Linked DNA regions of Homo sapiens: region 2 is linked to region 1. Evidence: promoter capture Hi-C in human tissues and cell types (Jung and others, 2019). All regions are on one chromosome and are shown on one strand. Each heading gives the region's core, a stretch centred on a gene start or on the middle of the fragment in contact. The rest is flanking DNA. Distances are from core to core; before and after follow the strand shown.

Region 1 (5,424 bases), core at 1,204-3,703:
CCTGGGAGATAGCCAGATTCTAAGGATGTGATTTGCTCCAAGTTGGTTCTTGATGGCCTTTTGCCAACTCCCAAGACAGTTTAGTACCCACAAACAATGTAAATGTGGGGGGCCCTCTGACCAGGGCGCCAGACAGGATGTCCTGCAGCCCCCGCCCCCGCCCCATTCTTCGGAGTCTGGGTGGAATTGGATCTGCCCCTGAGGGTGGGAGGCAGCGGGCAGAGTGGGGGGGAAAAATAACCCTCACATTTCGGGATTGTCAAAGCTGAAATCCAGAAAAACTCTCACAGCTAAGGGACTCTTTCACTACTTCTTGGAGGAAGAGCAGAGAGCAGGAATCAGAACGGTATTTTTCTAAATTGTCTTCAAACTCCAGGAAGTAACATGTAGCATATTTTCTCCTTTATAAACCTACAGTATCATGTGAAACCTTGCCACAAATAATGCAGTTCATGATGGTTTACACTCCCAACATTGTCAGGGCTTTCCGTGTGTTGACTGGTTATTAGTTTTAACCTGCACAGAACTAAAAGATTTGTATAATTTTCACAGGATATTAACACTATTGATTTAATAATGGCTAATCCACATCCATGTAATGTGGAAATAATAAACATGTGAAGCAAATGTAGGAGTTCCCTTCATCTTGAAAAGTTGCCCTGATGCCTACTCAATCGTCCCCCTTGGGGCAGTTTTACAAGGAGCATTGCCTGCTCAACACAGGGTTGATTACATGTAACTTCTCTCCCAACGTACTGCCTTTCTAAAGGAAAAGCCTAACTTTGTCAGACAAGCTGAATCCTGTCATTCTCATCTTGTTTACTTGGGGAAAAAATATACCAGTGTCTATGTTGAAATGGGCCACACCTCGGTAGACACTCACCCAAAATGCTAACCGAAAAAAAGAAAAAAAGAAAAAAAAGAAAAAGCACCCTTCTTCATTCCTCCAGATTTCATGATTAGCATGAGTGTTTGCATTTATACAATCACATTTCGGGAACAAGAGAAAAGATAAGCATTTCAAAACAATCACTGCCTTCCATGCAAAGAAATTCCACATCCACTTTCTTTTAAAAGTTCTTTTATCGTTTCTGGTATGCCATCTTTTCACTCAGCACTGAAAGGCAGCTCTTTCTGGGGTGAAAGCACAAAGCCACTCAACAATTTTTAACAGGCACAGATGAAGTTCTCCTGCCCCACCCTCTTCTCCAAACCCAGCTTCCCTTTTGCCTCCCCCGCCCTCCACATCTGGCCAAGAGAAGGCATCTGGAATCCTCATCAGCTCCTGCTTCGACCAAGTGAACCCCTCCCACGTTTCATTTAAAACACCATTTGCCTCCCTCTCTTTCTCTCTCTAACAGTTTTCTTTTTTCATTTTTTTTCTTTTTCTTTTTTTTCCTTTTTGAGACAGAGTCTCACTCAGCTGCCCAGGCTGGAGTGTAGTGGCGCAATCTCAGTTCACTGCAACCACCATCTCCCGGATTCAAGCAATTCTCCCGTCTCAGCCTACCAAGTAGCTAGAATTACAGGCACCTGCCATCATGCCTGGCTACTTTTTGTATTTTAGTAGAGACAGGGTTTCACCATGTTGGCCAGGCTTGTCTTGAACTCCTGACCTCAGGTGATCCGCCCGCCTCAGCCTCCCAAAGTGCTAGGATTACAGGCATGAGCCACCGTGCCCGGCCAACAGTTTTCTTTAAACAAACCAATCCCCCTCTTCCCATCCTGTGAGGAGAAAAAAAATACTTAAATTTAAACAGAAGTGAATAGGGAAGCAAACAGGCAGGAAAAGCAATGTCAAAAATAAACTGAAAACCAGTTATCTATCCACCACCACCCAAAAAATCCCAACCAACAACCAGCGAGCAGAGTAACAGTTCAAGTCCTGAAGCAATCGGAATCAAAACGGAGGAGGTGAAAAACATCTGGCCAGTTCCCGATGTCATTTCCAAGGTGTGTGGTGTTTCCTCCATAAACAGGATCCTATCCCAGTTTGTTTCAAAGTCCCTGCTCCCTCCACATCCTAGAACAAGAACCCGGTCACTGCCAGGCACGATTTTAGCCCCATCCCATTGATTTCCCCAGACTCCGTCCTCAAAATACACTTTTCTGAACTTTCTAGAAAAAGTTGTCTCTGTATCCACTTTGAGCCAAAAGTTTCAAGGACTTGGTTCTTAGAGGATCATAGAAAAATAGCGAAGGAAGAAAAGAAAAAGCAAAACTAAGATGAGGTCAGAAGAAGCAGAGCCGTGGAAAGGAAGGAGAAGTTTTGCTGAGAGTCCCCACAGCGTTGGGAGCTGTCCTACCTGAAGGGTCCCAGCGACAGAGGCGCTCTGAGTGGCAGGTGCTGGCAGCAGCCCTGGTCCGCTCTTCTGGAAGTATGTGACCGCACTGAGGGGAAGGACCTGCCTCCCGAGGTTATAAGTTTCCTCTGCTGGTGTACTGGGGTGTGTAATGGGCGGTTTCTTTTCACCGTGTTTTAAAGGAGTTTCTATGAATCAGTCTGGCTTTAAAAAAAAAAAAAAGATTTGTTGGTAAGCTACGCCCTGCTAAGCTGGCAGTCAGTCAAGAGTGGCTGGGAGTGAGCCATCAATTCAAAGAACCCTGTTGTAGGCTCTCTCTGACTCAGACACACAGACCACAGTGGAAAAAAGGAGGGACATTGCTTCAAATGAGTAACAGGATCACACAAATAGATCTGTTTACTGAAGCCCATTCCTCCTCACCAAAAAGGAGACTTGGTTACCATGGACATAAGGCAAAACACAAGGTTTCAGCCTGGGAGGGGGAGGAAAGGGGCCAGTGTCCTGCTGACTGAAGTCCTAGGTCATCATCAAGCGAGATTCCCAGTCTTCCTCCCCCATTAAAAGCATCAGCTGCTGCTCACTGTCAGGAATTATCAGATTCCTTTTTTTATTTACTTCCCTGCCTGACCCTGGTGCACTGTCCTGTGGGTGGCTGTACAGGGAGGCCCTGAAGGCGAAGGGGACACACTAGGAGCTCTTGCAGCCCTGCCTCTGAGTGATGGAGCACTGATTGAACAGCAGAGAATTCCTGGTCTTTCATTATGCTCTGCTAGTGCCCGTGTGGACTCTCCACATTCCAGGAGGAAGTCCTCTAGTTAAGAACTTTGCTCTCTGTAATAATCAGCTGGACCTTGTTCTACAATTGACTTTCTTGAACTTGGCCAGTAGCATAATCATCCCTACTACCTCCCTGCACCACTCCTCTCTCTCTCTCAACTCTGGAGCTGGGAGAGGCCTGTGAAGTCATCTCATCCCACAGCCCAGGCATTCCACTGGAGAGAGTAAAAGCCCAGATGCCTGAGTTCAAGCCCAGCTCTCCACAAATTTGCTGTGTGACTTTAGGCAAACCACTTAACTTCTCCATGCCTATTTTCTCATGCATAAAATGGAGATGGCAGGTATGTAACTCATAGAGCTATGATGAGAAATACACATATAGGGGCTCATGGCAGTGTGCATAGTGAGCGCTCAACAAATCTTAGCTACAAGGATTATTTTACTGAAGAAGCAGCTCAGGCCCAGAGAGGTGAAGTGACTTATTCAAGGAGATACAGTACGTTACCAGTAGCAGCTTGGATCTAGGTCAGCACATCCAAGCAATTCTATTTCTGTTATTCTCTGCTGCACCCTGACAACTTATTTCAATTCAAAATATGCGTGTGTAGTATTTATTCATTCATTCTGCCAATACAGGCTGCACGTCAGTCTTCACTGGGCCTGATTCAGAGCACTGAGTCACAGAAGTGAATGACATCCCTGCCTCTTGGAACTTATATTCCCTAAAAAGATAGAAAACAGACTGGTGGCTATTCACCAAAATGTTGATCAAATTCGATGATAAAATTATGGATGCAGTTTAGTTTGTTCTGGTCACAATTCTGTATTTTCCAAATCCTCTGCAATGAACCTATATTACTGTCTTTAGGATGTTGGCATGTGGATGGATGGATTTTAGGAAAAAATATTTTAACATGGGAATGTGGAGAATATTTTCTAAGGTGGATGATAAGGAAAACACAACACACACACACACACACACACACAATGATTTGATGATGCTGCATCTTCACAAGTCCCTGAGAACTGAATTCTATCTCTGTAAAAGTAAGAAGGTCTGGATTTTCTCACTGAAAACTGATGACGTGATAAAAGACTGCATGTTTCTCATAGAGTTCCTCACCTCTCCCCTCTCTCATTGCTCATTTGATAATAAAAATGCCTGTCTGAGAGGGGCCACTCCCAGCAGTGGGTTGAGAGTCCCTGTGATCTCTGAGCATCCCAACCCTCAGGGAGGGGAGGGTGTCTGCAGGTGAGGCCAGGAAATCCCCAGGCATGTGCTGGCGCTCCAGATGGGCCAGTCTCCCCTGCTGGAATCGGCCTGTCTCCCTGGCCTTTTCCTACTCTCAGGGTTGCCTTTCACCCCTGATGCCCTCTGCCAGTTTTAAAGTCTCTCTTCCCTCAGCTGCCTGGAAAGGAGAACTGGACTCCAGAGGAAGTGTTCTCAGATGCTGAGGAGTATGTGGTCTGATTGCATTTCTTAAAGAGAAACCTGGAGCCAAGGAATAGCAGAGGGGAGGCATTCTCCCTCCCACCTCCTTCTCGGGCTTAACAAGGGGAAAAATCAGGAACTTTTCTTAAAGTACTTGAGTAGAGGAATCCTTCAGTCTATCTGGATTTCCATGGATTTCACAAAGAGAGACGCTGGGCTCAGGGACGGGCTTCAAAACAGGACCCAGAAAGCAGGAGGCCCAGTTTCCACGCCTACTACCTGGCAGTGGCTGTGAGCGAGGCATCTGCCTGCCTCCATTTCACCTTAAAGTGAGTAGACAGCATCACCTTCCAAATGGGTCTGATAAATCTCACCTTCCTGTGTGCTTTTGGAGATGTCTAGGTTTGGAGAGAAAATATTAAATGCATTGAGCTGTGAAAACACACCCATGCACACATGCAAAAACACATGCACGCACACACACATGCACACATGCACACACAGAGTGGTGCCATAGAAAGCCAAGTTGTGTAAATATTTTTAAAAGATGAATGCAAGTCCAGGATTTCTAAAGACTTATAATTAACCCTTGAAATATCACTGAGCTTATTTTATAAAACAAAGTTATCCAGTCTGGGAAAGCAATTGGATCTGTTCTGGCTGAAGTTCTAGCTTTTTGTGCCTCTGGATGTGATTAACTCGTTAAGCCTGAGTGTTCCTTTGGCTATGAGCAGACAATTTTGAGACTACAGACAGTAAACGGTTCAGGGCCTAAAACCACATGGGGCTGGAGATACAGCTCCCCTGGCGTTTATATGGTCTTTCCAAACAATGTCGAGTAAGCTGCCTTTCTGCTCCCATTTCCCCCATTTGGAAGGTAAATTAGACACATTCATTTTCTGCATGGGC
Region 2 (4,700 bases), core at 2,121-4,620, 410 kb after region 1:
TTCCAGGTCAAGTGATACCTTCTGGCAAAATACCTTCAGGATAAATATGCTTCCTCAGTTATATATCCCACAATGCAAGCTTCCATTACAAGCTTAAACTCAGCTCCTGGTCTTGCCATTCAAGACTCTCCACACTTACTTCAAAGGATCACTTAAAACACTAGAGAAAAAGAATCTCCCTGAAGGAGAGAGACAATCAAGGAAAGCAATGCTATTTCCAGCTCATGCCCTGCCTTAGAAACTCAAACTTAATCTCATCTCTTGCAAAGAGCCTCAGCAGTCTCCCATTTAGAAACTTGCTCTTATTATTTTCTAAATGTGGTGATTAAATAAAATTAAATGCAAACACTAAACAATAATTAAAAATTAAATTACAAACTTAAAATAAATAAAAAATACATGGACTGGCACTTTTCAGAGAAGGTAATAATAGACAAAGGTCAGTTTCAGGAACTTCATATTCCTTTCTGTACCAGTTTCTACAACAGGCGGGAAACACTGCCCCCTAATGGGCTTTTAGTGTTACATCCCTTGTTCATACGGTGAGACACTGCCCCAGGGTGCACGTACGCGTGCTCTCTCTCTCTCTCTCTCATTTTGGCTTCTGGGACACAGTCTGTCCTTGGTCATCTGTGAACGACTCTGAAGACCATGGAGTCCCTAGAGAAGCCGTGAGACTTCGTGAAAGCTCATCAAGGGGATTAGAAGTTAGCATTTGTTGCAGTGATTTTCAAACCTTAGTGTGCCGCAGAACCACCCAGAGAAATTGTTTAAACTCAGGTTGCTGGGCCCCACAGCCAGAGTTTCTGATTCCATAAATCAGGAGGGTTGTGTCCAAGAATTTGCCTTTCTAACAAGTTCCTGGGTGATGTTAATTTGCCATTCCAGGGACTACACTATATGAGCCAGCACCATCATGCTAGGCACTTTGGCTCATTTAATATCTCACAACAGGGTGAGATTTTATCATCTTTGTTTTACACAGTCTCAGAGAGATTAGGTGGCTACACTCACACAGTAGTGACAAAGCCTGTCTCAAGCCCAGGACTGTCTAACTCAAAACCCATCACTCTCTTCTGAACACAATGATGTCGGGAAATGAAGTTGGCAGTCGCTCCATCTATCTGGCCCTCAGCTTCATGTGAGGGAGCAGGACTTAGATGACGGCTTCACGGGCTTCCCCTCTGAGTACTTGGAGGACTGGATTGGGAGCCACTCAGGAAAGGCCTACTTCATACCCAGGCCGCATCTGGGAGTAAGTAAGCTGAGGGGAAAGGGAAGAGGAGGAGATATCAGCACCAGGGTCCTCTCTGGGTTCTGAACCATCCTACAACGTTCAGAGAAGGGCTGATTTGCTCTGGATTCTGGAGTTCTTTGTATCAGAAATTCTGGAATAGAGGCAAACGCCTTCCTCACGCACATTTTGAGGACTTCAAAGACTAGTAGGACTTGGAGAGGACCCAGAGGATGGCACTCTCTCCAGTCTCAGGCCAAGCCACCAGGGCAGGGTCAGGGACCCCGAAATAACTTTAAAACAGGAGTGCCTGCCCAGCTGTGTTTAGACAGAAAGTTTTTGATAAAGGAAAAAGAGTTTTTGGGTCACATTTTTCCACTAGGAAGACTGAAAAGTCCGTAGCACTCAAGCCCAGGCAGATGTCACAGTGATGGGAAAAGAAGGGCTTTGGGGACCTGCCCACTTCAAAAACAGTTTTTCTCATCCTTTGCCTTCGGCTCCTAACCCAGCTTGGTGTTTTCCTAAGGGAGCTACAAATTCTGGAGCATCCCATGAGGATGATTTGCTGGCCTCGGTCATTAGGGGGAAAGGATGTTCTCAGAAAAACAGCCCTGCACGCTGGTCAGCAGAGATCTTGAGGTCGTGGCCACGACTGGACTTGGTGCAGAGCTGAACCCGAGACTCCAGCTGCTCGCTGAGTTCGTCCAGAGCCCCGGTGCAGGACTCCAGGCTCTCGGCCAGTTTCTGAATCTTGGCCTTCAGCACGGCCTGGCTAACCTTGGTGTCCCCCTCCGCCCGCCTGGGGATGAGGAAGCCACGTGAGCCAAAGAAGACGATGAAGTAGACAGAATTGTACAGGGCGATGGAGGCGTTCCTCCCGCACTGCAGCAGCTGGCGGTCCCCGCAGCCCTGCCAGCGGCAGAAAAACTCGAGGCAGCTCAGGATCTCTCGCATCTGGTCCTGGCAGGTGGCCGCGATCTCCTGCACCCTCCGCAGCTCCCGGGAGTTGCAGAAGATCAGCGAGAGATCGGACGTGATGGTGACGGCCCCTCCGGCTGTGGCCACCCCCAGCCCCACGGCCGACACCAGCAGCGAGGTCCCCAGGGTGACCGGGCTGAGCGAGAGCCCCACGATGGCGGCGAGGGCGCCCGTTGCGCTCAGCGAGCTGCCGGCCACGTTGGCTACGAGGGAGCGCCTGCGCAGGCGCTCCAGGCGCCGGGCCACCTCGCGCAGGCGCAGCACCTGGCCGTGCAGCCGGCCTCGGCGGTCCAGCAGCAGTCCCTGGAAGCGCCGCAGCGCGTCGGGCCCATGCGGCTCCCGGGCCGCCGGCCTCTCCATTCCCTGCGGGGACATAGACACGCGGTCAGCCTGGAGTCTCCGTGCCAGCCGCCGCTCCCGCCCTGCTGCCCGGACGCCAGCGGGAACTTGGCACGAGTTCAGCGGAGCAGCCACTGCCACGCTAGGGGAACGGGTCTGTTTCCAGTGGATCATGAGACGAGTTCTCAAAGACCTGTTCTGGAATCCGGGGGGAGCCACACAAGTTCTCAGGACCTTATCTCTGCATATGGAAATAGGAATAATGCTATCTTCTGCTTCTCTCCCAGGGAACGTTAACGATGGGCTTCATCAGCTATGTGTTAAATAAGATTTAAACTGGGAGGGGCGTGGTATTAGAAGGCTTCTCCAGTACTGAGGCCTTTGCTCTACTTAAGATAACACTTTGTAAGTGGTGGGTTGTACAGTTTACAAAGCCCTTTCATCATGTGAAAATTGGATCCTAGGAGTTTTGCAACACACTTTTCTCTCTCTCTAATGAATGAAAAAGACTTCACCAAAACCTCAAAAATCGTATTTTCTACCAAGCAGAAGAAACATCTAAGTTAGATGCTTGCCTGAAGCAACTCTTCTGCTTGTGATTCTTCCAGGCTCTTTTCTTAGAATCAAGCCTAAAATGAGATTTGCACTGTTTATTCTAACTAGGGCTCCTTGGATCTTCAGAAACATCAGTCTTTGCTGGGTGCTTGATTTAAACTAAGTCACATTAAATTAATACCATTATGTCTCTTTGTTATGAAAGTTTTCTTTTAAAAATGAGTAATGGTTGAATAAAATAAAGTGGCCAAAATTTTTGTTCAACAACTTCTACCACGTTGAAGCCAACTGAAGATGACTGACAAAGATACGAACAAGTTGTACATCTTGGGGGAAAAGTATATTCATCCTAGTTGCAGATTCCCACCTTCATGTCCACTGTACTCTTCATTATTAGGAACTTCTTAAAAGTGGCAAATGAGCCATAGAAATAGAGCATTTCAAAACTGAGCTATCAGGGCAGAAATCATTCTCATCTGGAAGAATTGCCTGCATCAGACATCAGATTCTAGAAGCAGCTGATTCTTCACAGAGCCCAGTCTAGAATCCTCATCTCCTTATTCACAGGACTTAATTTTACTTCCATGCTTCCATAATCCAACCCACCAGGGATAATTTTCCAGGTGAAAAGAGAAAATGAGAAAAAGTCATCCCGAATATATGCCTCAGGGTTCCCCACTTACCATTCACTTCTGTCTGCCTCCAGGAAAGTAAAATCTGAGGCTGTTTCTGGATGAGTGTGCTTTATAGTTCCAGAGAACCAATGGCTGCCCTGGGAAAGCCTTGTCTCATTCTGAGAATTTGCCATTTCCTGTCATGACCCCTGCTGCCTTCATCTAGAAGGACGTGACATGGTGGAAAATGACCTGCCAGCACAGCACATCCCGTATTTAGGAAACGAACATTGTGTGTTCGCTTTCCCCTGAACGCAGGAAGAGAACCACAGGCTCTTCCCTAACTTGAAACAAGTGTGTTGTCATTCTCCCAGTGGGATACCCTGCCTTTCCTGAGAATAGCTAATGACGCGATAGAGAAGGCCTTCAAACGCACCCCAGGCTGACCAATTATAGTGTTTCTTGAGGCCACCATTACAAAATCATATTTTAAAAGAAAAGGGAGGGGGTGGAAAACCCTCATATCTGACATAGCCGCTCATACTCCACTGCTGTATTTTTAAAAGCGTTGTGAATCTGTGAGTGGCTGGAGCCTGGGATCATTTGGCATGCAGCGGGTACCCTGCAGTCCTAAGAATGCAAGGCCACACCCACAGGAAGTGCTGCGTGCAGTTTTGGGCATCTCCAGCTGTGGAGAAGACATTGGCGGTCTCAGAAAGGGCACACTCCAGGTCACATGCATCAGAAAAATCAGTGGGGTCAGGCTGCATGAGGAGCTAATTGTACACTTTCAACCACAATAGGGCATTGGCTTCCCAGGTTTTCATTTGAAGTAGCAATTGTAGCCCATGTGATAGGGAAATGAGTGGATTCTGTCTACAGGGTCATGAGGCATGGGCTGAAGGGCAATTATTTTGATAATTCAGCACAGAAAAGTGAATGTAGCTTCTGTGGACTTGCTGCAGACCAGACCAGATGGA

Evidence for each region. Contacts are between HindIII fragments. The study calls those that stand out against the background at their distance.
Region 2: a fragment that was not itself captured here is called in contact with the fragment with the promoter of EMP1 in region 1 in 1 of the 25 tissues and cell types used here (heart right ventricle).

The regions. Positions count from the first base shown.
Region 1 is chr12:13,193,755-13,199,178 of GRCh38, reverse strand. It overlaps EMP1 (epithelial membrane protein 1), which reads right to left and starts at 2,453. Exons shown (of 5, transcript NM_001423.3): 1 at 2,307-2,453. RefSeq lists an enhancer at 1-413. The HindIII fragment of the contact is 16,024 bases long and covers 1-5,424 here.
Region 2 is chr12:12,784,784-12,789,483 of GRCh38, reverse strand. APOLD1 (apolipoprotein L domain containing 1) reads right to left here and starts at 3,825. Exons shown (of 2, transcript NM_030817.3): 1 at 3,790-3,825; 2 at 1-2,575. The coding sequence starts at 3,792. The coding sequence ends at 1,832. RefSeq lists silencers at 2,299-2,408, 2,439-2,538. The HindIII fragment of the contact is 6,568 bases long and covers 87-4,700 here.